7 separate regions of the Homo sapiens genome follow, and regions 1, 3, 4, 5, 6 and 7 are each linked to region 2. Evidence: promoter capture Hi-C in 16 types of primary human blood cells and fetal thymus (Javierre and others, 2016). All regions are on one chromosome and are shown on one strand. Each heading gives the region's core, a stretch centred on a gene start or on the middle of the fragment in contact. The rest is flanking DNA. Distances are from core to core; before and after follow the strand shown.

Evidence for each region. The method cuts DNA at HindIII sites, captures the fragments that hold promoters and counts their contacts. A CHiCAGO score of 5 or more calls a contact.
Region 1: a fragment that was not itself captured here is called in contact with the fragment with the promoter of SLK in region 2 in 6 of 17 cell types (naive CD8 T cells, non-activated CD4 T cells, total B cells and 3 more); the score reaches 10.3 in naive CD8 T cells.
Region 3: a contact is called between the fragment with the promoter of CFAP58-DT here and the fragment with the promoter of SLK in region 2, in 2 of 17 cell types (fetal thymus and neutrophils). The highest score is 6.8, in fetal thymus.
Region 4: a fragment that was not itself captured here is called in contact with the fragment with the promoter of SLK in region 2 in 1 of 17 cell types (M0 macrophages); the score reaches 5.4 in M0 macrophages.
Region 5: a fragment that was not itself captured here is called in contact with the fragment with the promoter of SLK in region 2 in 2 of 17 cell types (activated CD4 T cells and fetal thymus); the score reaches 5.7 in activated CD4 T cells.
Region 6: a contact is called between a fragment that was not itself captured here and the fragment with the promoter of SLK in region 2, in 2 of 17 cell types (fetal thymus and total B cells). The highest score is 5.6, in fetal thymus.
Region 7: a fragment that was not itself captured here is called in contact with the fragment with the promoter of SLK in region 2 in 1 of 17 cell types (fetal thymus); the score reaches 5.4 in fetal thymus.

What each region holds. Positions count from the first base shown.
Region 1 is chr10:103,575,205-103,578,258 of GRCh38, reverse strand. All of the region lies in intron 3 of NEURL1 (neuralized E3 ubiquitin protein ligase 1), which reads right to left. Among named protein-coding and RNA genes, the nearest start is that of NEURL1-AS1, 59 kb to the right of the region's middle. The HindIII fragment of the contact is 799 bases long and covers 978-1,776 here.
Region 2 is chr10:103,965,846-103,968,871 of GRCh38, reverse strand. SLK (STE20 like kinase) reads right to left here and starts at 1,732. Exons shown (of 19, transcript NM_014720.4): 1 at 977-1,732. The coding sequence starts at 1,126. It overlaps LOC102724351 (a long non-coding RNA gene), which reads left to right and starts at 1,827. Exons shown (of 5, transcript XR_007062282.1): 1 at 1,827-3,026. RefSeq lists silencers at 1,211-1,310, 1,321-1,370, 1,411-1,870. The HindIII fragment of the contact is 5,644 bases long and covers 1-3,026 here.
Region 3 is chr10:104,352,140-104,355,582 of GRCh38, reverse strand. CFAP58-DT (CFAP58 divergent transcript) reads left to right here and starts at 2,008. Exons shown (of 2, transcript NR_108036.1): 1 at 2,008-2,465. It overlaps CFAP58 (cilia and flagella associated protein 58), which reads right to left and starts at 1,750. Exons shown (of 18, transcript NM_001008723.2): 1 at 1,677-1,750. The coding sequence starts at 1,685. RefSeq lists enhancers at 2,021-2,080, 3,358-3,443. The HindIII fragment of the contact is 7,343 bases long and covers 1,299-3,443 here.
Region 4 is chr10:103,610,785-103,613,948 of GRCh38, reverse strand. It overlaps SH3PXD2A (SH3 and PX domains 2A), which reads left to right. Exons shown (of 15, transcript NM_001394015.1): 12 at 759-1,096; 13 at 2,319-2,368. Among named protein-coding and RNA genes, the nearest start is that of NEURL1-AS1, 95 kb to the right of the region's middle. The HindIII fragment of the contact is 3,758 bases long and covers 1-3,129 here.
Region 5 is chr10:104,331,565-104,334,569 of GRCh38, reverse strand. All of the region lies in intron 1 of ITPRIP (inositol 1,4,5-trisphosphate receptor interacting protein), which reads left to right. Among named protein-coding and RNA genes, the nearest start is that of ITPRIP, 5.4 kb to the left of the region's middle. RefSeq lists a silencer at 2,825-3,005. The HindIII fragment of the contact is 5,024 bases long and covers 1-3,005 here.
Region 6 is chr10:104,310,508-104,313,576 of GRCh38, reverse strand. ITPRIP (inositol 1,4,5-trisphosphate receptor interacting protein) reads left to right here. Exons shown (of 2, transcript NM_001272013.2): 2 at 1-3,069. Among named protein-coding and RNA genes, the nearest start is that of ITPRIP-AS1, 11 kb to the left of the region's middle. The HindIII fragment of the contact is 212 bases long and covers 1,543-1,754 here.
Region 7 is chr10:104,277,946-104,281,053 of GRCh38, reverse strand. GSTO2 (glutathione S-transferase omega 2) reads right to left here. Exons shown (of 7, transcript NM_183239.2): 4 at 2,938-3,108; 5 at 1,583-1,684. Among named protein-coding and RNA genes, the nearest start is that of GSTO2, 10 kb to the right of the region's middle. The HindIII fragment of the contact is 964 bases long and covers 802-1,765 here.

The sequences.
Region 1 (3,054 bases), core at 128-2,627, 390 kb after region 2:
CTAAAGACAAAAGCCCTTCTCATTTGTGTAAATGCCTTTCCACATCTGTGAGGTAAGTGGGGTGTGTATAATTATGCCCAAATAATGAGGAGGCTGAAGCACAGAGAAGCTGAGAACTGCCCAGAGCTAATGAGTGGCCAAGTCAAGCCTTGATTCAGTGGGTCTCCTGCATCTTAAATGAAGGCATTGTCCCCAATACTGCAAGGCCCGAGCTCCTCCCTCCACATACACCCCACCCTGAGCCCCACCACTCTCTCCAAGGCCCCAGTACAATCTCTTGGGCCCAAGAGATGCTAGGGGCAAACATGAGATTGCCTTTCTTGTAAGTTAAAAACAGTCCAATACTGGTGATTACATATGGTTCAACTTGATATATATTCATTGTGGTAGAAAACTAGAGTGCACAGGAATAACTGAACCAGACAAAGCCCTCGGGAGCCTCCGGGGAACTATAAGGCAGGCAGACCGACCTTCCCCACTGAATCTGGCATCCTGGGCGCTGCACTGCCCCTCTTCCTTGTACCAGCACTGCTGGGGCCCTGGTGGCCTATCTGTGCCCAACATGTGCAGTTGATCCTTGATGCCTTGAGCTCTTGTAAGCTCGACTCTGGAAGGCACAGGAGGGCCACTGTCCCCGCTCTTGTCGGGTATCCAGACCTAATAGGGAGATCAGATGGACTCACATCTAGAGAAGCTGGAAGGTAATGTAGCCCAAGCTCCTGGGTTCAAATCCCAGCTCCACCAACTGCCAGCTGTGTGACCTTGGGCAGGTTATCAGACCTCTCTCAGCCTCTGTTCCTTATCTACAAAATGGGCACAATAATACCTTCCTTTATATACAAAGAGGATATATGCTGGATCTTTAAAGAGCAGGACAATACATGACTCAAAGCTGCTTATACCACTTAGGTCTCCAAGTGCTTCCGATGGTCAGGAGGAGGAAGGGTCATTTTGAATGAGGGAGGTCTGGGAAAGCTTCCTAATGGAGGGGAGGGTTTGGTGTGGGGCACTGATATAGCTGGCAGAATTTGGGGTAAGCAGAAAGGAAGCACCAGAAAACCCTCTGAAGCAGAAGGAAAAGCAAGATTTTTTTCTTAATCAAAAAGAAATGAAAATCATCAAAGAGGAAGAAATCATGATCGGCAGCCTCAGCTGTTTCCCCCAGCCCAACAGCTGGCTCAGGCTCCTTAAACTAATATTTGCCTCTTGGCCCCTAGCAGCCACAGCTGAGGGTAAATATTGGTTTAGCCTGGGAAGCAGAAGGCCCAGATGGCAGTGTGGTCCTCGGCTGGGGATCACTCATGCTCAGCACCTCCAAGCTGAGGCACACCCTGGATAGGGGACCTGACCTAGGCCCCTATCTCCAGGGGGCCTGGAGAACCCACCCAGCAGCACATGACCCTTGGAAGCCCATCCTGAGAGTCTCCATACAGCTCTCTCCTCAGTAGGCAGGCGTGGGTCTTTTACCAAGACCTGGGAACCTGTGCATGGCAAGGGATGGAATAGAATGCATAAGCCCTCGGGAGCCCCCACCTCATCCCCTCCTAGAACCCTCCCGGACCCAGCCCCACCATTTAGATGTGTTGATAGCCTCCTCCCTCTGACCTTACTCCCAGATCAGCCTGAGAGATCTGGGTTCCAGGCCTGGCCTGGCTGATGAGCAGCTGGGAGAGTTTGGGCAGGCCTCTCCCCATCTCTGGGTCTCATACTTCTCCACTGTCAACCAGCCAGTCCCTCTTACTGAACAACTTGACAGCACAAAAGCTGCTGGAAGCTTTCAGCTCTCATGGCTCTCTCCCCTGTGATGCATACACATACCCACACCTGTGCACACCCCTCACCTCCACAAGTCACCCACTACCTTTCTACCTCATTCCTTCCCCTCCTGGATCTGCTCCCCTACTGACCGCCAATTCCCCACCTCTGCACCTGTGGACACCCCCCTGTCTGACCTAAATTGTTCCTCAACCAATCCATTCTTTTCACCTCACTTAGTTCCTGACTTAAAACTTGTCTCCTACAGGAAGTCCTCCTGGATTGCTCTCTAGCTGCACTCCCCTCCCACACATACACACAGTTTTACTCTTCAGGTCACACTTGATTGCAGAATTGAACTTGGGCCACCTTGCATCAGTTATATGATGTGTCCCCCAGGGAAAACATTATTCCAGGAGAGGGGCTGGGTTTTTGATTCTTCTGTCTCCCACCTGCCCCCGCTTAGTGCCTAGGCAGTGGTAGGCACCAAGGGATGCTCTGGAGCACCCTGTAAGTGGGCTCTTGGCCCGCCAGCCAAGTCCTGCTGGGACTCACAGCTGCTCTTCCTGAATTGACATTTCTGAGAGGAGCAAGGAGACCTTGAGATACTGGGATAGGAGCTTCTTTTTCCATGTATTAATCACCCCATAAAACCTGTGTTTATTTAGTTGCTGGCGGGTCCTTCTCCCTGGAGGAAGGAAGCTGTTATTCTTGACGATACCAGCCTGGGCTTGGGCCAGGGCGCCCCAAAGAAAGAGGTGATCTGCAGAACTCCAGCATAACAGGGAGGAGGGCCTGCTGGGGCTGTGGCATGGGCACCATAACAGGGAGGAGGGCCTGCTGGGGCCATGGCATGGGCACCATTGTGGGCTTGGATTCTGGCCAGGGCAGGGAGGACCGTCCACTGGGGAGAGACACCAGCCCCTGCCTCCACTCTGTCTGGGGACACAACCCATCCATGGCCTGACCTGCTTACCTACTATGTGCCAGCTACCCTGGGAAGCCTCTGGTCTAAGGAACAAACACAGAGCAGGTAAGATTGGGAGGGCTTTGACCACAGGCTTCAGACAAAGGGGGCAGGGGCAGGCCTGGCAGAAAATCCCCAAAGATCAGACATTGGTTTGGGGGACAGTCACCCCAGGAAAGACTGGCCCAGCCTCAGAGCCACCAAGATGGACAGCGACTTTCTTCAGAAGAGAGACAGCAGCGGGGAGAAGGACACCAAGACCAGGGAAAGCAAGAAGGGTGAGAGGATCTAGGTCAAGGGAGAGAGAAAAGCCCAGAAAGATACAGGTGCAG
Region 2 (3,026 bases), core at 483-2,982:
TCATGTGACTGTGAACAATTTCAATATCTTCATCTGTGAAATGTGGATACTAATACTGACCTGCCTACCTCACAAGATTTTTGTGGGGGCCAAATTATTTGAAAGTACTTAAAAACTTCAAAGTCCTGTATAAACATAAGTTATTTTCTTACGTTTTCACTTCTAGGCAACCCTGTGGGTCCTTCCCCTAAACGCTGTCTCATAAAAAATTCGCCCTTCAGGATGAAAATACTCCAATGACATCATTCATATGTTCCTTAGGAGATATTAAATAGTTAACATTAATGCCTTCAGGTTGAAACGCCAAGCCTCTTTCTATTGAAATAAATACATGCGTGTGTGTTTTTAACTGCTTAAGCGCTGATACTGACTTCTAGTCAATGCTTACCATAAATATATTTAAAACTAGTACCACATGAAGGTTTTTTGGAAATTTTGTCAGAAATTCCATTCTATTTTATAGTATGCTGTCAAGCAACTAACTCAAGAAGAGACTGCAAGTAGCAATCACTTTGATCCCAACTAGTTCTGTATTAGCTCTAGATACAACCAAATATATATACTGGACCCTAAAAACAGAACTGTTGGAGTACAAGCATGCACGCGAATGCAGTCAGTAGACAAATCCACTGCAAAGTGCAATGAGTTTCTCATTCTAAAATACTTGAAGGGCACAACCAGACCCCTCCTATAAATTAAAGAACACTCTCATTTCCTTTGAAGTTTGAAAGAGTAGACTTTATAACCCTGTCTCCTTTTCCAATCGCTCTTTAAACTCCATCCAGGCCCCATTTTGTTCCACCGTAAACCCGACTTCTTAGCTACTCCTTGGATGATCAGCCAAGTAAAGTTGCATCGAACCGTAACAGTCAAAAGAAGGACAGGATAAGGACCAGGGGAGCAGAAGTCCTCCCGCCACTCCAGGCCAGTGGCTGTTTTACCTTCGCAGTACAACTTCCCGTTTTCCCCCTCTTACCTTGTACACTTTCCCAAAGGCTCCGTCGCCCAGTTCTCCTATAATCTCCCAAAAGTCTTCGGGGTTCAGGTCCCTCTTCACGTGTTCGTACTGCTTCTTCTTCTTCTCGCTCCCCAACTTGAAGATCTTACGGAAATTGAAGAAGGACATTTTTCCTCCCAACACAGAGTTCCTTGCACTTAAGGACTAAAAACAATAAAAGGCAAAGTTTCTCTTCCCTGCTCTCCCGCGCGAGCCCGGCTGGCGGCGGCGGGCGCGGCGTCCCTCGGCCCCCGCAGCTCCGGCCGGGCGGTCCCGGGAGAAGGCGGGGCGGCGACCCGGGCTCCGGCCCGCGGTGGGGGTGCTGCGCGAGCGGCCCCTCCGCCGAGCCCGGCCCGCGAGCCGCGCGGTGGGCGCCTCGCCTCCGGCCCACCCTCCGGGAGCGGCACCTGCCCGCAAGCTCGCTCCCACCCGGCCTGATCCGACGGGTCCGAGCGGTCAGGACTCCCGCGGCGGCGGCTTAGGCCCGTGTCACGGCGAGTCTCCAGGGGCGGCGGCCACTCTGGGAGAGAGAAGCGGCCGGCGGCCTCGGAGGCGGGCAGTCGAGAAGCCGAGCCCTCCCGCCTCGGGCCGCGAGCCTAGGGTCTCCTCCGCCGCCGTCCGCTCCCGCGGCGCAAGGCCCGCGCGTCCCCTCGGGTCTGGGGCGCCGCCGCCGCCGCCTGTCTCCCTCCCCAGCCCACACAGCCTCGGCCTGGAGCGCGCGCCGACGCCGACTCCGTAGCGCGCCCGCGCGCTTTCCCGGCTGCGCGCCCGCCCGGTCACGCGCCCTGCTCACCGCGCGCTCGCGTGGGGGCGTCCCCTCTGGCCCCGCGCACGCGCGCTACGTCCCTCAGACTGGCTGCCCCCGAGGGTTCGCGTGAGCGGAGCACGGGGCTCGGGGTGCGGGGGGCTGGTGTGATGGACGCATTTGTTCTTCGGTCCCTGACGATTGTTTCTCATTTGCCCTCCAAGCCCCAAATCCTGTCAGTCCACGGCCTTGATGGAGCGGCCCCCGTGGGACGACCCTGTTGATTGTGCTAGCGGATGTTGTCTCCATTCTGGATCTGGGAAAAACTGTGGAGTGAAAGCCGGACCTGTTAGGGTTGGGACCTGAAAGCGGACTTTTTCGCTCTCAGACGGGCCCCAGGTACAGTGAGAGGGGAGTTTGTGTGGTGGTTGTGAGCTTGAGCTTTGGAGAGAGAGATCTGTGACCTTGGGCAGGTGACCTCTCCGAGCCTCGGTTTCCTCGCCGTAAAATGAAGATCCTAATAGTCCCTACCAGAAGGTTGTGAATGAGACAATAGATGGAAGCCCTTTGCGCGGCCCCTGCACCCGTAAACGCTCAATCTTAGTTCTTACTCTTGTTGTTTTAAGTGTGCAGGCAAGATAGACACAGATACATAAAAACTGTTTAAGACCACTTCTCTTTTTTTTCTTTCTTTCTTTTTTTTTTTTTTTTTTTTTTTTTGAGACGGAGTCTCGATCTGTCGCCCAGGCTGGAGTGCAGTGGCGCGAACTAGGCTCACCGCAAGCTCCGCCTCCCGGCTTCACGCTATTCTCCTGCCTCAGCCTCCCGAGTAGCTGGGACTACAGGCGCCCGCCACCACGCCCCGCTAATTTTTTTGTATTTTTAGTAGAGACGGGGTTTCACCGTGTTAGCCAGGATGGTCTCGATCTCCTGACCTCGTGATCCGCCCGCCTCGGCCTCCCAAAGTACTGGCGTGAGCCACCGCGCCGGGCCCCCACTTCTCAACTGATGACTGCGACACTCCCTTGAGGGTAAAACTAACTTCTGGCCACCTCCACAACTGTAAACCTGGTGTCACTCTTGGTGACTCCACCTCAGCTAAGGCCCCCACTTCCTGATCTGCCTCCAGCCCCCTTGGGCAGCACTCCCTGGTGGGGCAGTGTGGACGTTGGCTGGAATCCGTCAGGTGGTGACCTACCTTCCCCTCCTCCACCAGACGGGAGCTCTTTCAGGCCAGTGGTTTGTTGTTCATCAAGATATCCAAGTACCCGGCAACATTCCTGG
Region 3 (3,443 bases), core at 759-3,258, 390 kb before region 2:
AAGGAAAAGGGAAAAGGAAAAGAGAACTGCAATATAAGATGAGGCCAGAGGGGAAATAGAGAATTGTGAAAGCAGAATCGAGAAAGTTGGCTGAGGTCAAGTAAGAAGAAAAGTAGAAGAAAGGAAGAAACGAGAGGAGTAACAGAAAGAGGGAAATGGAAATAACTAATCCATAATAGTGGAGCAGCTTCTGAGGCCGGCACCTGGGCAGGGTTCCTCACAGAAATATGCAAATATATCCTGAATAGGGCAGAGCCAAGGAAATGAGGGGCTGGTGCCTCTGGGAGGCTGGGGCTTCCCTATGGGGAATGAAGAATGAAATAAACAAAGATGACTGGTGGGAGAAAAGAGGAGAAAACACTCAAAAGCAATAATGGGACAATAAAGAACTAGAAGGAACAAGAAAGGAAATGGGAAGAAAGAGATACAAATGACTATGGGTAATGGGGAGAAGTGAAGTGGCCACAGCAGCATGGATGTCAGAGAGAGATGTGAGTGATGGAGCCCAGGCGTGAGGAAGATGGATGATATGAAAGAGATCGTATGATAAGGAAAGGAAGGAGGTGTTGACCACGGGAAGACGGAATTTATAAAGCTAGACTGGAGATGGAGGAAAAGCAATGATGAGGGGATGTGAATGGTGCAGAGGAAGCAAGAGAGTAACTAGAATGGGGTGGGGAGGGGGTGGAGCACGATGGTGCTGAAAGATGATGGGGCTTGGGCTGGCTTCATGGGAGTGAAAACTGGTCAGTTGCACAGGGCCCCTTGCTCAGAAAGGCCCCATTCTTGGTTGAATGCTCTGCTGTTCTGTCTTAAAATTATTTGTAATTTTTGAAGAGACTTTGTGTTTTCACTTTGCATCAGGCCTTGCAAATCATGTAGCTGGTCCTGGCTGGAACAGACCGTGGGATGGGTGATGGGGGAAGGGCTCTGATGGGGCCATGAAGGATTTGGGTAGGGCCATAGTGGATGGGGACTGTGAATGGCAAGTAATGACAGGGACCCGAGGCTCTTGAGGTTATACGTGAGGGGGCTAAGGGGCAGGCAGGGAGTCACTGAAGGGTTGCAGAAATAACCCCTCATTGGAGAGGCTGAAAATGGGGTGTACTGTAATATGGGGGAGTGGTGGGGTGATACGAGATGTTAACACAGGAGTCAATGAACACACGGGGCAGAGGTGATGGGCAGAAGAGCCTTAATGAAGCTGTGTGACAGCAGGTGATCACATGTTAGGAAATCAGGGTGTGACAGGTGGACAAGGGCCATTGATTGGGATGACAGCAGGCATCTGTGAAGCTTTCTTCCCGGTTTCCCCTGTGAGATAAGACATCTCCAATATTTCTGTGTGAGCCTCTCTTATGGTATCACTCCATGACTAAAAATCTAGGGCTGGGTGCATGTCACGTGTGGATTTCAGAATTCATTAATTTTCTACCGCACTTAGCATAGCGCCGATGCCACAGTGGGGATAGTGGGGTGTCCACACAAATGAAGGAGAAACAGGAGGTAAAGAGGCCAGAGCCAACGGAGAAAGGCGCGGGAGTGAGTGAGGGTGCAGGGGAATAAGATGTTGATGGGGGGAAATATTGGAATCACCGTTTGTGACAATCGTCAGTAGGAGAGGGACAATGGGGAGGGGTCAAGGGAAAGGCGACAGAGGGGCGCTGACTCCTGACCTCAGCCATCCTGATGCTCTCTGGGGGCGGCCTCAGAGGCTGCTGTGGAGATCGCAGGAGCTGGGCCGGAGTCTGGGAAAGAAGCTAAAGGCGCGACGCGCTGTCTCTATCGCCCGCCCCGAGCGGAAACCCGCGCTCGGCGCGTCGGCCCGTCGCCTGGCAACGGACACGCCCTCTAGGGGCGCTAGCGGGAATTCGAAAGGGGAGGAGCTTCTGCGGCTGGCACCTGGGCAGGGTTCCTCAGAGAAATATGCAAATATATCCCAATGGGGCGGAGCCAAGGAAGTGAGGGGGCGGTGCCCCTGAGAGGCTGGGAGGAGTCCCACGGTGTGGGCAGATGGAGACACCCAGGAGAAAGAAGAGGGCGAATTGGAAGAGGCCACCCAGAAAGGACGGTGTGTGACACTAGGGAGCCAAGCATGGAGAGCCGAGGACTAACGCTTGGAAGGAAATGTGGACCAGAAGGTTCCGGATGAGGGAAGGACTGGCGGCTACACTCTGCCTTCCGAGACAACGAGGAATAATCTCACTTCAGTCAGTTCAACCCTTGTAAAACAGCTACTGTGTGCAAGACACGGAGGGAAAGCTGAAGTAGAGAAACCACAGACGCTGTCTTCAAAGGGTTTAATCTAATATTAGTGATGAGAAAAATAGGGTGCAGAGCTTAAGGCATCCTGGAAAAACGTATGTAGCGCCACATCGCGAAAATCTCTCTTCTGGGACCCCTCTCCCAAAAACGTTTCTTCGCCCTCTTCTCCCCCTTCTGCCTCCACTCTTTCTGGACTTCAGGTACAAATAGTTGAAATAATTATACTCCTTGGTTCATGAAATGTGTAAGACTCCTCTCTGGTTTTATTTTCCCCCTTTATCCCCATCCCTACTCCCAACCCCTATCCTCAACCCCATAGGCATTCATGCTGCTGTGCTTCCATATGTATTTTTGGGAAATGTACAAAATTTTTATCAGTGTATTTTTTAAAAATGTTTAAATAATGCTACTGGACTTTGGAGATTATCTTATTTTCTACTTTTTTCACTCAACATTCTTTTTAAGGATCTGTCCTCGTTGCGATTGGCAAGCATATAGTTCATTGCTTCTGAGTACTGCACAGCGTTTCATAAGGGGCATCTACCACACTTCACTTCCATTCCCCAGGTGTTAGGTAACAAGGCCGCCTCTAATTCTCCAATACATCAAGTAATACAGCCATGATCGTCTTTGTCCGTGGTCCCTTAAGGACCTCTGTGCAAATTCCTCTGAAATATATGCCAAGGAGTAAGATTGTTAAAGTTATAGGGATGCACAGGGACATTTGCTTATGCAGCTGCGTCCTGCACAAACACATCCAGCCATGGGGCAATGGAGGCTGAAAAACTGTCTCTACTCTCTTTCCCGTGCCATGTGCCCTACTGGAGAAAGGTGTGCACTTTTTATTCTCACAAAATCTCTGTACGCCAGCCAAGTCATGAACCTAGAAGGCTGTAACTATCTAGAGGGTGTGATATTTTCAAACTCATCTGGCCAGATGAACAGTTTTCCAAGAGCACAACGATGCCCAGTAGCCTAGTACAAGCCCTGGGTACTTACCAAGCACTTTAAGATTGTGTACCAGAGTTACTGCCCTACGCTGCACTCCAGTGTGGGGTTTCCATCCAACACTTCCATCCATCCCTTCCAGAAGGTGATAGGTCTTTTTTATTAAACACTCATAAAGTGTTTAGTAAATACCAGATACTATTCTAAGTGCTTTGCAAATATTGACTCAT
Region 4 (3,164 bases), core at 1-2,500, 350 kb after region 2:
TTTGTTCCACTACAGTAAATTTAGCCTGGTTTGTGAACTTGGTCTGTGACAGTCTATAGAGGATCCACCTACTCTCCCTGCAGTGGCACCACAGCTGTCCCATTCAGTCATCTGGCATGGAGGAGCCATTCCAGCTAAGATGTTGGAGACAGCTTAGTTGATCTCAACATGTCTGTCCTTCTGGGTACATTTTTAGCAGCGACTCTATCCCTGCATCTTGCAAAAGAGACACAAACTGAGCTCCAGGGAAGGGACTTGTGCAAGGTACCACAGACTAGAACTCAGACTGCCTGACTCTCACCTTCTGGAGTCAATTCCCTCTCTAATAATACCTCCCCTTCCTACAGGCCATTTACCTCTACATACCACATCCACACCTTCTTCTTATCTCTCTAATTATCCTCAACTGACTGGGAAGTAGCAGGCCATTATGAAGTCCTCCTTTGGGCAACCCAAAAGTTGATAAATCTGATCCCAAGCTCCCACATTTGCCTGACTTTGCAGAACATGAGAGCCCACCCCAAGAGGGATCAGGCAAAGAAAAAGGAGCATGGTGGGGGGGCAGTGGGAATTGGTGTTCTGGGTGTCTTTTCCATCTACCCTCGGTGCCATTTCTCTCCAGAGTAGTGGGATTGCCAAGCCTTGCAGAACATGGTAGGGAAGGCTCCACTGGGCAAGGCCAGATGGATCCTAGGGCCTGGGAGTGGGCTGTGAGGTCAGAGTGCTCTAATGATAGCACATCCTGCTCCTCCCCACAGATACCTGGGCAAAGAGGGCTGGGCGCCAGCATCCTACCTGAAGAAGGCCAAGGATGACCTGCCAACCCGGAAGAAGAACCTGGCCGGCCCAGTGGAGATCATTGGGAACATCATGGAGATCAGCAACCTGCTGAACAAGAAGGCGTCTGGGGACAAGGAAACTCCACCAGCCGAAGGCGAGGGCCATGAGGCCCCCATTGCCAAGAAGGAGATCAGCCTGCCCATCCTCTGCAATGCCTCCAATGGCAGTGCCGTGGGCGTTCCTGACAGGACTGTCTCCAGGCTGGCCCAGGGCTCTCCAGCTGTGGCCAGGATTGCCCCTCAGCGGGCCCAGATCAGTAAGAGCCTCGCTGACCTCTAGGTCCTCACTGCAAAGCTCCTTAGAGAATGGGCATGGGTGCCGTGAAAGCCAGGGGGGTGCACAGGACCCCCATGGCGTTTTCCTCCTGGGCTACAGACTGGCCTTTGACCCTCACTCTGTCAACTTGTGTCATGCTCATCACAGGAGTGGAGAAGGCAGAGGAGTATGATGACTCAACTGCTCCCAGCTGCTCCACGGAAGCTAGATCACATGAGGATGTGGGTGGTAGCGTTCCCTCCTCTAGTGGAGAGCCAGCAATGGTCACTCTGCAGATACACGCGTTCCAAGAGCAAGAAATGTTTTCTTTTCCTTATGGTAAAGGCTTTATAAATCAAGATAGATGATGTGTAGCTGACTTTTAAAAAATCAAAAAAACACATTTCCCTGGGCTGTTGAATGTGGGTGCTATATGCAGGGCTGCCCTATGGAGTGACAGTCTGTAGAGAAACGTCTTTCTGGGCCTTAGCAGCTCCTTCCCTATGACTTTCCACTCGTTACTGGAAACCTAAGAGACTTGGGAGCTAAGGCTTTACCACTCTACACAGGCAGTTTCAACAGGGCGTTCTTCAAGAATCATCTTCATTTCTACAGGAGACTCCAGGCAGTCTGGCACCCTCCATCTCTGGCCCAATAATGCCTTTTGTTGAGGCTTAAAACTTCCATGTTATAGGAACCTAGCTTTTGTTTGTGTCCAGCCATTCTTAAAATCTGGAGGAAAGCTGTTTCTTTAGTTTAGCTCCACTGGGTTAAGTTAGCTCTCGTGCCTGAAATCTTTTAGGGAACCAGCTGGGAAACAGTTATTGGGCACCTCCTCTTGCCTGGCATTATGCTAGCTTCTATGGATTTAATAGTAAGCAAAAAACAGACATGGTCTCTGCTCCTAACTTTGAAAACCTGATAAATCTATACACCCGTTACCCTGAAAAATGCCCACATAGCTGCACATTTTGAAAAGTGCACATAATTTTAGAGTGTTCATAGATCCCCTGGAAGCACAGCCAAGGTAAAGGTCTATAGTTTCCCCTTGAAAAAGCCCAACCACAGTGCCCATAGTGACTTAGAGTGTCAAGTCCTTCATAAAGGCTGAGCTAAAGCATGAACTTGAAGGATCAGGAGTTAGTTTCACCTAGGGAAGGCAGGTATGGGTACTGTTGCCCATCGTCTGACTAGGATTTCTGAAGCCATGTCTCTTCCTCTAGGCTCCCCGAACCTACGGACAAGACCTCCACCACGCAGAGAATCCAGCCTGGTATGTGTACTGAATTTCTTCTCCCCTTTCCTTCCTTTTCTGTGAATGCGCTATAGCCACCCGATCAATTGGCTATCTTGCGGCAGAGCCTCTTGATCCAGGGGTTTTCCAGAGCCCTGCTGGGGCTTCTAGTTTTGTGGGGCTAGGGGCAGGGAGGGAAGCCTGCAGATCCCAGCCTTCCTGGAGGCCTGGCTGGACAGTTTATAATCGGAAACACACTGCACTCCAAAGCTAAATAAATCCATCCCAGCCACTGCATTGGCAGACATAAACATTTAGACTGCCCGGCAAAAGTGTCCAGCCAGGGCATTGCCAGAGGCTGGAAATGGGGCTCCTGTCCATGCTAGCCTGGAAGCCTTTCAGCTTTCCCTGGTCAGGAATGCCCAGTGGAGGTGGTGGATGGCAGAGTCTGGGAGGGCAGAGGGCAGATCAGTGAACGTCTTCCAGGGAGGAGTGTGAGTTGCAAGGAGTGGCTCACGCCCCAGCTTTAAGAGGTTAACACTGCCAGGGTCCCTGGTTCATGTGGGTGGGGTTTCCTGGTGTCCAGACCCTCGGGCAGGTAGATACGCATCAGGGGCCAGGGCTTGGGGTGCCTGCGATGCTGGTGGCAGGCTGAGAGCCTTGGAACAAAGAACTGTTAGTAAGCGCAGTGGGATGTAGTGGAAAGAGTGTGTCTTCAAGTGCCAGGCATGGATTCGGATTCCACTTCTGACACTTAGAGGCGGAGAGACTGTAGGTAAGCCAGTTGCCCTCTACAAGCTTCAGTGCCCTTATTTATCAGACGGGACAGTACTAG
Region 5 (3,005 bases), core at 79-2,578, 370 kb before region 2:
AATTTTTTATTTTATTTACCTATTTGTTTAGTGCTTTGCAAGCATTAGCTCCCAGAGACATAGATTTGCATTTGCGTAAATTCGATAACTACTGTACAATCTCAGAGTTGTAGGGCCAGGCCATGAGAGTAAGTGCTATATGCAAATCAAGAGGATGATCCGGTAACCTGGATGGATCAATAGAAAGCCAAGCATAGAGCAAAGACACGTGGTCCCCAATCAGCATGGAGGCTGGGCCAAGGCTGGCCAGTTGTTGCATCCCCTGCGTAGGCCAGGGGGTGAAGCATTCCTAAAGCAGTGCCTGCTTCGGCTGCCTCAGGCAGCCTGCCCTGCTCAGCTGGCCTCTTTAGATTTAAAGGGCTCTTTCTGGTCTCTGTCCAGGCCCTTCATGGCTCATCTTTAATGAGCCACATCTCCAGGTGCCCAGAGCCAAGGCGGTGTGACTGCACGGGCTTTGAAGTGGGGCAGACTTGAGTTGAGTCCTGGCTCCACCACTCGGTGGTTGGGCGTTCTCAGTAGTTGGGCAGGTGCCTTGATTCTTCAAGTCTCGGTAACATCATCAGTAAAATGGGGATGACCCTCAGGGCTGTGGGGAGGGTTGACCCAGACGATGCACAGAAGGCTCTGAGCACCGTGCCTGGCGCAGACTGGAAACCTGGCCAGTGTGCGCTCTTCAGGACAGCAGAGGTCGGTTGGAGGTCTGCATTCTCTGCCGACTTGGGCCCCAACTTCCCCATCAGGTCACTGCTCCCTCCTCTGAGGTCTGGACAAAGGACAAGGCTGTAGGGACCTAGACTGTCCTAGACGGGGAGGACATCTATCCTCAGTGGTCTTTCCAGCAGTTTGTTTGGAGCTGCTCATCCTGATCTTTTGGCTGACTCTGGCAGAGGGAAAGTCAGATTTGAGGCCTGAGCTCTAACAGGCATCCAGAGAGGAAGGAAGGGTAAGGAGCTCTTCTGGGCGAGGAAAGGGGTCATTTGGGAGTGCCCCAGAGGCCTGTAGACCCCTCCTCAACAGTTTAGGACCTGTGACGTTTCCCCACAGAGAGCACATCCCCCCTCTATCTGTTAGGCCCACCCCGTGACATCAGTGAAACGGAAGCACCCTGCAGGTGACATCACTGTTGCTCAGGGCAACGCCTCCACCCTAAGGCGGACGGGGAGGTGAAAAATCGGCCTCAAGTGTGAGACGCATGTTGAAGGGAAGGGACATAGAAGGTGTAACGTTCACAGGTGTGTTTCTCAGAGGCTGGGGAGAGGATGGGCCCAGTTAGCGGCAGGGTGAATAGAAGAGGGAGGTGCTGCAGTCTCAGATCTGGGCTGTGTCAGTTGGTGGTGGGTCTTTAGGCCTTGGGTCAGAGAGCGCAGTGCTGACAGCTGCAGTCTCCTTCAGTTCTCTGAACGGGACTCCTTAGGGGTCCTCCTGCAGCCTGGATCTGTAAGGAGGGTTAGGGGAAGGGCAGGCTGGAGCAGTGATGGGGCCATCAGAAAAGTGACTTTCCATTCTTCAGCCTCCCCACAAAAGAGAGTGAGAAATAGGATGCTCACATCCTTATTACGGGGGCTTCATTGATCGAGCAGCCATTGTGTATCTGTTATGCATGGCCTGTGCCAGGGATTCAGCGGCCTCGTGGAGCGTTATGATGAAATGCACATGGAGAGGAAGAGTGTATGGAATCCACTGCCCCAAGAGGCAGGACCAACTGGAGATAGGAATCCCGTCTCACAGTTCACCTCACTCAACTTAGCATTCCCTGTGGAATTCTAGATGGGTTAAACTAAATTCATGGAATGCTTTCAGTTGGGTGTGCTTGAGATACACTTGCTAATTTGGGAGTGGAGTCAGAGGGGGCAGCCATGGATGTCCATCTTGTCCCTGGGATGGCACTGTTTACAAGGCTGAGGTCACTCAGCAGTTCTGATGCTCTTAACTTGGTGACCTGTGTTTCCGCCACATCTTATCAGGTGATGCCTGCTGCTTCTCCTAAGCAAGGGCTGCCAAATGTCAGCACAGGAGACGAAAGAGGCAGGAAAGGGAGGACTCCCTGCCCTGAAGAAAGATGAAAAACTAGATGATATAGTAGGTGTCTCTGTAGAGGTTTCAGGAATCGCCTTGTCCTTCCACTTGAAGGCACCTGATTAAAGTTTTTGTTTTGTGCAACTAGGCATAACTTCAGGTGCTTTTCTGATGTCCAGCATTTCGGTGGCTAAAGTCATTGCCCTAATTCTTGTATGCACCTAGCTTTTTCAGGTTTATAAATAAAAATTAGAGTATCATTAATCTGCAGAATCCACCGTTATGGATATGACATTGTTCATATAAGTAGAATGGCCTTATTAAAAAAAAATAGTGGCTTCATTTACTGAGCAAAGCCCCATTCTAGGGGTTTACACATATTTATTTCTCCTCCTCACAATGGCCCTTCAAGGTGGGTGTTATCCTAGTTTTACAGGTGAAAGAACAGACTCAGAGGGACTTGCCCCAAACGGACAACAACAGAGAAGAGATTCGAATTTAGATTTGCTCTCTCCCAGGGCCTTGGACTCTTTCTGCCACCTCAGGCGTCTGTCTGGACACTGTAGCCCAGAACACATACAGATGGCATAAAGAATCCCACAAAGTTTTAAGTGTCAATACTGAGAAAACAGCAAGCAGACCACCAACTCCAGGCCTGAGACTTCTGGTCCCTTCCTGCTGTCTCACTCTGATATTAGCAGACCTAGTGAGCTTTGGAGACTCCTTCTGCCAAGAGATTCTGTGAGTGTGGCCTGAGCTATCTGAGGGTGAAAGGAAGGAAAGGCTTTCCCTTCCAGCACTGTTTGCTTTTCTGTTTAATAGGCACAGTAACAACCAGTTCCTGATAATATTCAGAGCACTTTGCAGTCCTCTGCTGGAAGTCCCTAGGAAAAATACAAAGCCCCGCAATTATCAAATGACTCACTTCCAGGTGCATAACACAGTGGGACACTCACTGCCTGGGAAGAGGGGCTCAGCTTGGAAGCAAC
Region 6 (3,069 bases), core at 399-2,898, 340 kb before region 2:
CTTTCTGACTATCATTGTGGTAGGGGGAGGACAGATGCTAAAGGTGGAAGCTGACCTGGAGAAAGAGACACACGGGGTGACTGTGGCAAAGGACAGCTGGAAAAGAAACTCTATCACTTCTTCATTGGCAACCACAAGGCACCTGAGGCCATGGCACTCCCAGAGGCTGTGCGCAGAGCCAAGCCTCTCAACCTCTTCTGGCCCTGCGTCCTGCAGCGAAGTCTCTGCTGTAAGACAGTAGACTCCTTCGATGAGGTGCTCAAAAATGCTACCCGGGGTGGTGGTGTCTGGCTTGCAGTCTGGCCCAGTTCAGAGAAAGTTGCAGAGATCAGGGGCCAAGGATGTCATAGCCCCAGGTTGTCCTCAGGGTCCCAATCCTAGGGCAGGGTGTGCATGGAAGCAAGAACTATGGAAACCTAGCTCCAGTCTGCAGGCTCTGAGCCCCTAGTTCCTCACTCCAGCGGGGCTCCCTCACTGCACAGAACCCACCCCTTCTGTGTGGGCACTGCTGACCACACAGATGACCCAGACCCAAAGAGCCTGGCAGAAGCTCTGTGGTTGGAGCTGGGCTCCGTCTCCAGGTCTGGTTCAGGGGGATCAGGAAGGCTCTTTTCCACCTGTGGCTTCACTGGCCCTTTGAGATTTCCTATCTCACCGTTACTTCAGTTACCCTTGCAGGGGGCCAGGGAGTCAAGAATATACCGTGTTCCTCCAGGGTTTAAGCCGGCCATGCCTTCCCGAGAGCATAACCAACTTGACAGGGGTGCCCAGTTACCCCACAAACTGAAGGAAGGAGATCCTTCCCCCATCCCCAGGAGTGCTCTCAACCAGCCTCAGAAAGCTTGAGAAGATGGACCCTTTGCCCACCAGGGTTAATTCCTGGTGGGGCAGCTCGGCTGTGATCAGGGCAACCAAACCTATAGGAAGCCTTCCAGTGTGAGCTGGAATTAGACTGAACATGTGCTTGGGCCTGCCTCTCCCTAGACGCAGTTGCGGGGCACTCCAGGGAATGAACCAGCTCAAGTGTGTCCCTAACAGCAGCCTGGAGCTACCCCCAATCCCTCACAGCCTGACCCTCCTCATTCCATCAGATGCATTTGTAGAATCGGGGCAAATTTCCTTATTTATTTATGGCCCATGCCTTTCCCCCTCTTCATCCTGATCCCGTTTTGCTTTGAAGAGACCCCAGTAACCAAAAAACAGCCTCCAGAAGCCAAAACCATGCCTGGATCTCCCATAGCTTCTCCTTTGCTTCCAGGAGAAAGTTCACTGAAAAAAAAATATCTTCTGGCTTCTTGTGTGTACAGAGACAACAGAACTCGGTGGGGAAACGGGAATCTTTTCTGCACCAAAGCTGCTTCTAAAGCAGAAAGCAGTGGGGCTCTTGGTGTTTCATGCTGCCTTATTTATATTAAAGGAAGAATTAAATCTTGCAAGGAGTAGAAATGGTCACTGTTTGTTTTTAACTTCAGGAAATCTGTGAGGCTCCCAGGGCAGAGTTGGGGACAGGGGGGTGGATTTCCTATTGACAAAGCAGAAGCTTTCACTCCCTTTTTATTCTTACACTTTCAGGAGACTTTAAAAAATAACAAAACAGAACATTTCTACCCTGTCTTTGAGGCAACTTGTGTGCTGCCCGCAGGGCTCCAGAAAGGGCCTTTGAAAGCTGGCTGTAGGGTGGATTCCAGCCTAAGACCTTATTTCACAGAGCTAATGTCAGCGAGAAATATAGGAGCTGGAACTAACAGGAAGCTTTTGGGTTTTAAAGAAAGAGATTGTATTTTAAATAGAGGATTTTGAGTCCTCTAGGGGACTTTGGCCTTTCCACTAAGGACAACCCTGCCCTCTTTCCCCAGAGTCTCTTTCCCAAGGATGCTTGACTTTCCCCAGCAACTGCTCACTTGCTTTGCAAAATAACAAGGGTGAAATGAATAGAGTTGGCCCCTAGGCCAAGAGGCTGGTTATGTTGGGGAAGGGCCTTATATCCTCAAAAGCTCTAGCCCCTCTGCATGCCTGGCTGAAGCACAGCCCCCGTTGAGAACCTGGGGGTGGAGCTCTGGTTCATCATCAAGGGTGTCATCCGAATCACCCAGACAACCTGGTCCATTGCCCCGACCCCGCCTTGAACCTACATGGTGCTCAGAATCCAGTCTGGAGTGGTCAGGCTAGGCTCGATTTTTAAAGATTTCCCCCAAGTGACTGATGGTACCCCTAGCTGAGGAAGCCCTCTCACTTTCTTTCTTAATGGAAAGTTAAAGAAAACCCAAGTGGACTACTTTCCCTACAGATCTATTGGAAGATAGATAGACCTGGGAAAAGCCAATGAGCCTGCTTGGAATCTGTGGTCTAAGTGGCATCAGCTACACCACAAGCTTCTCATGAGGGCACCCACATTCACGCTAGTGCCGTAAGCCTCAGAGAGAGGGTGGGAAGGCATAAGATGGTGAGCCCTTCTCCCAAGCAGGTCATGAATAGTCCACAAGCATTTGTCAGGAGCCTAACGTGCATGAGACATTGTGGAAGATGGGAAAATGAATAGGACCAAGCCTGTTCCCTAGGAGAGGCAGCAGAAGGTGGCCTTCCAAGTACTGAGCTATTCCAAGTGTGACCCTGCACTACACATACGGGTGTCACCTGGGGGCAGCTTCCTGGGCCGTGTCACAGACTCCAGTGGGATCCTGAGAAGTTAGGTAGAAGAATCTGCACTTCACCAAGTTCCCCACCTGATTCTGGATGTCCAAGAACCACTGGTACCTGGGCTGATTAGGGAAGGCCTCATGGTGGGGCGCTGCCAGATAGAGACTCTGAAAAATGACCAGGACTGTGGCCAGGAAAGACATTCCAGCCAGAAGCATGGAGTGAGGGTGGGAAGCACCTACTGTATGGCAGGCACCGTTCCGCACACACATTTGTTAATGCACACAGTTCCATGTCAGTCCTATGATGTAGGTGCTATTCTTATCCTCCCTGCTTTCCAGATAAGGAAACAGGCACTGAAGGGGCAACTGACTTACCTACTGTCACAGTGGTAAGTAGCACAGCCCAGATTCCAACCCAGGCAGTCCTGGT
Region 7 (3,108 bases), core at 34-2,533, 310 kb before region 2:
AGAACATTGCCCAAGGTTCTGGAATTCAGTAAAGCCAAGCCTAAGATCCAAGATTCTTTCCACCACATCATATGGCCTCCTTGGAGTCAAGGCCACAGTTGGTGACCTCAGGACAAAAGGTTGACATTTCCTACACATGACCATTCGTCATCCATAAATACTTAATCGTACAAATTTGAGATAGGCAACTGGAAATATCAATACATTTAATCTGTTTCCACTTGATAAAGGTCAAATGGAAGAGTATTAATAACCAGTCTTCCCTTAAGGGGAAAAAAATTGTATTCTCTGGCTGCCAATAGAGGAACCACCCACCCATAAGGTGAATTTGTCAGTTTCTGGAGCAAAAATAAAGGAAGTAAAAGAACTGCCTTCCTGATTATTCTAGAAGTACAGGATAAGTAGCTCCATTACTGCCAGGTTAATGAAGCATCTACTGGCAAAGAGTATTCCTGCCACCGCACCCATTTCCCCCTTCTTCCTTAATTACAGACCTCTGATTTTATTCAGGGTATCCCAGCTAAAAGACTGTATTTCCCAGCTTTCTCTAAGATAGTTATGACCCCACAACTAAGTTCTGGCCAACGAAATGTAAATAGCCATTGAGTAGAATTTCTGGTAGGATTTAAAGCCCTTTAAAGGGGTATGACCATTTGCCATTTTTTTCTTTATATTCTCCTTTTCAGAGCCTGGAACTTGGATGTGATGGCTGCAGTGACAGCAGCTATCTTGTTATTTTGAGGATGATACCCTTGTACTAAGTTGTGCTAAGGATGACAGAGCCCATAAAGAGAAAAAGCTTCAGTTCCTGATAATGTCATGAAGAAGCCATCAAGATAGGCCTGAACTGCCTACCTCTGGCTTTTTTTTTTTTTTTTTTTTTTTTTTGTCAGTCCTACTTACTCTGTCACCCAGGCTAGAGTGCAGTGGTGCAATCATGGCTCACTGCAGCTTTGACCTCCCAGACTCAAGCAATCCTCCTGCCTCAGCCTCCTAAGTAGCTGGGACTACAGGTATACATCGTTATGCCTGGCTAATTTTTAAAATTATTTTTGTAGAGGAGGGGTCTTGCTATGTTGCCTAGGCTGGTCTTAAACTTCTAGGCTCAAGTGATCCTCCTGCTTCAGCCTCCCCAAGTGCTGGGATCACAGGTGTGAGCCACCGTATGTGTGAGAATAAACCCTTATAATACGTGAGAAAGAATGTTATGTGAGAGAGTAAACCCTTACAACATGAATTTACAGTAGTTAGACTTCAGCAGCCAAACACAACCCCTAACCTTTACAGACCTTGACCTCATTGGCAGAAGCTACAGAAGCCATGCAGAGCTACTCAGGGAGATGGGGTGACTCTGGGAAAGGAAGCAATTCATGGCATGTCCTCCCCAACTCCTCATCAGATTTTCCAGAATAATTCTAGACCAGGTTAGAGGAGGGCAAACATGCAATCAGATGATCAGAAGTCTGACTTATCAAAGGCAGAAAGAATAAGCCTGTGAAAGCTGGTGTTAGAGTGACCAGGTTAGCGACCCTGCCTAGCTTCCTCCACTGTAGCTGACCAGGAGAGGGACCCCTTTTTGTACCTCTTCCAGGTTGCTGAATTCCTGACGCAGGGCTGCCTTCAGATTAGTGCATTCTCTCCCACATCTCAACGCTACCAGGCACTCCTTGGTCAAATGTGGGACCTAATCAGAGGACACAGGTTCTCAGTGGAGAAGTCTGTGGAAACTTCCAGTTCCTGTTCTGCCTGAAAAGGCAGCGAAGCTTTATAACTCCAGCCTAACAGGGCAACACCCACATCAGACCCCCCAGCTCCCTGTGAGAGGCACTAGGTTTTCTCTGTGGTTCCGGTTCTCAGTAGGAATCTACTTCTTATAGTACCCTGGGAAAGCAGGGTGCTTTAGGAGGGTTTCTCCAGTGCTCCTTACTTGATCAGCTGCTTCCATGCTATACATTCTTAGGTGGGACACTCAACCTCTCTAAGCCTCAGTGTTCTCATCTGAAAAATGGATACGATAGCAGTACCCACTTCAAAGGGCAGTTGGATTAAATGAGTTAGCTCCTACAAAGTAACTAGGACAGTGCCTGGCACATCATAAGTGTTCGATATATGTCAGCTGTTAATATCATTGAGGTTTTTAAAAATTCCTTTTCAAAGACACCATCTTAAAATTTCTCCATTCTTTTTTCTTTCATTATCAAAGCTGCCACCATTTATCTATTCTTCACATTTCCTGGACAGCAGGCACTCTTATGCTTCTAAAGAGCATCACTGGCCAGGCACAGTGGCTCACGTCTGTAATCCTAGCACTTTGGGAGGCCGAGGCAGGCAGATCACTTGAGGTCAGGAGTTCAAGACCAGCCTGGCCAATATGGTGAAACCCCATCTCTACTAAAAATACAACAATTAGGGGGTGTGGTGGCATGCGCCTGTAATCCCAGCTACTCAGGAGGCTGAGGCAGGAAAATTGCTTAAACCCAGGTGGCAGAGGTTGCAGTGAGCCGAGATGGTGCCACTGCACTCCAGCCTGGGTGACAGAGCGAGACTCCGTCTCAAAAAAAAAATAATAAAAAAGCATCACCTTCTATGCATAATCTTCGCACTCCATTACTTTTTACCTGAAGCTGGAGAAATACTCCCTTTAAGGATCACCAGTTTTCAGTTCTTTCAGTATTCCTGCTTCAAGTTACACGGTCATTGCCATGTCATAACCATACCTCCTGAGCCTGCCAGTTGAAATGGAGAAGCGCCTAGCAGTTAAGCCTTTAATATCAGTGGCCATGCTCTACCCTAATTCCATGCTAGCTAATCTCCTGAGGATCACATGGTATCAAAACAAAACAGTTTCACCAATGATTTGGCTTTAAAATGGGTTGAGGTTTGGGAAAGACATGCAAAGTAAAATACAGTGTGAGTGACTTTTTAAATTGAATATACCTTACAAAATAGCTCCAATAACATCTTTTGGCGAGCTCGTTCATAAGGGTCATATGGAAACAGCTTCCTTCCTGGATAAGCATCATCCAGGTACTCACAAGCAATAACAGATTCATAGATCAGTTGACATTGGCTGGTCTCCAGGACAGGAATGTGGCCAAAAGGGTGCTT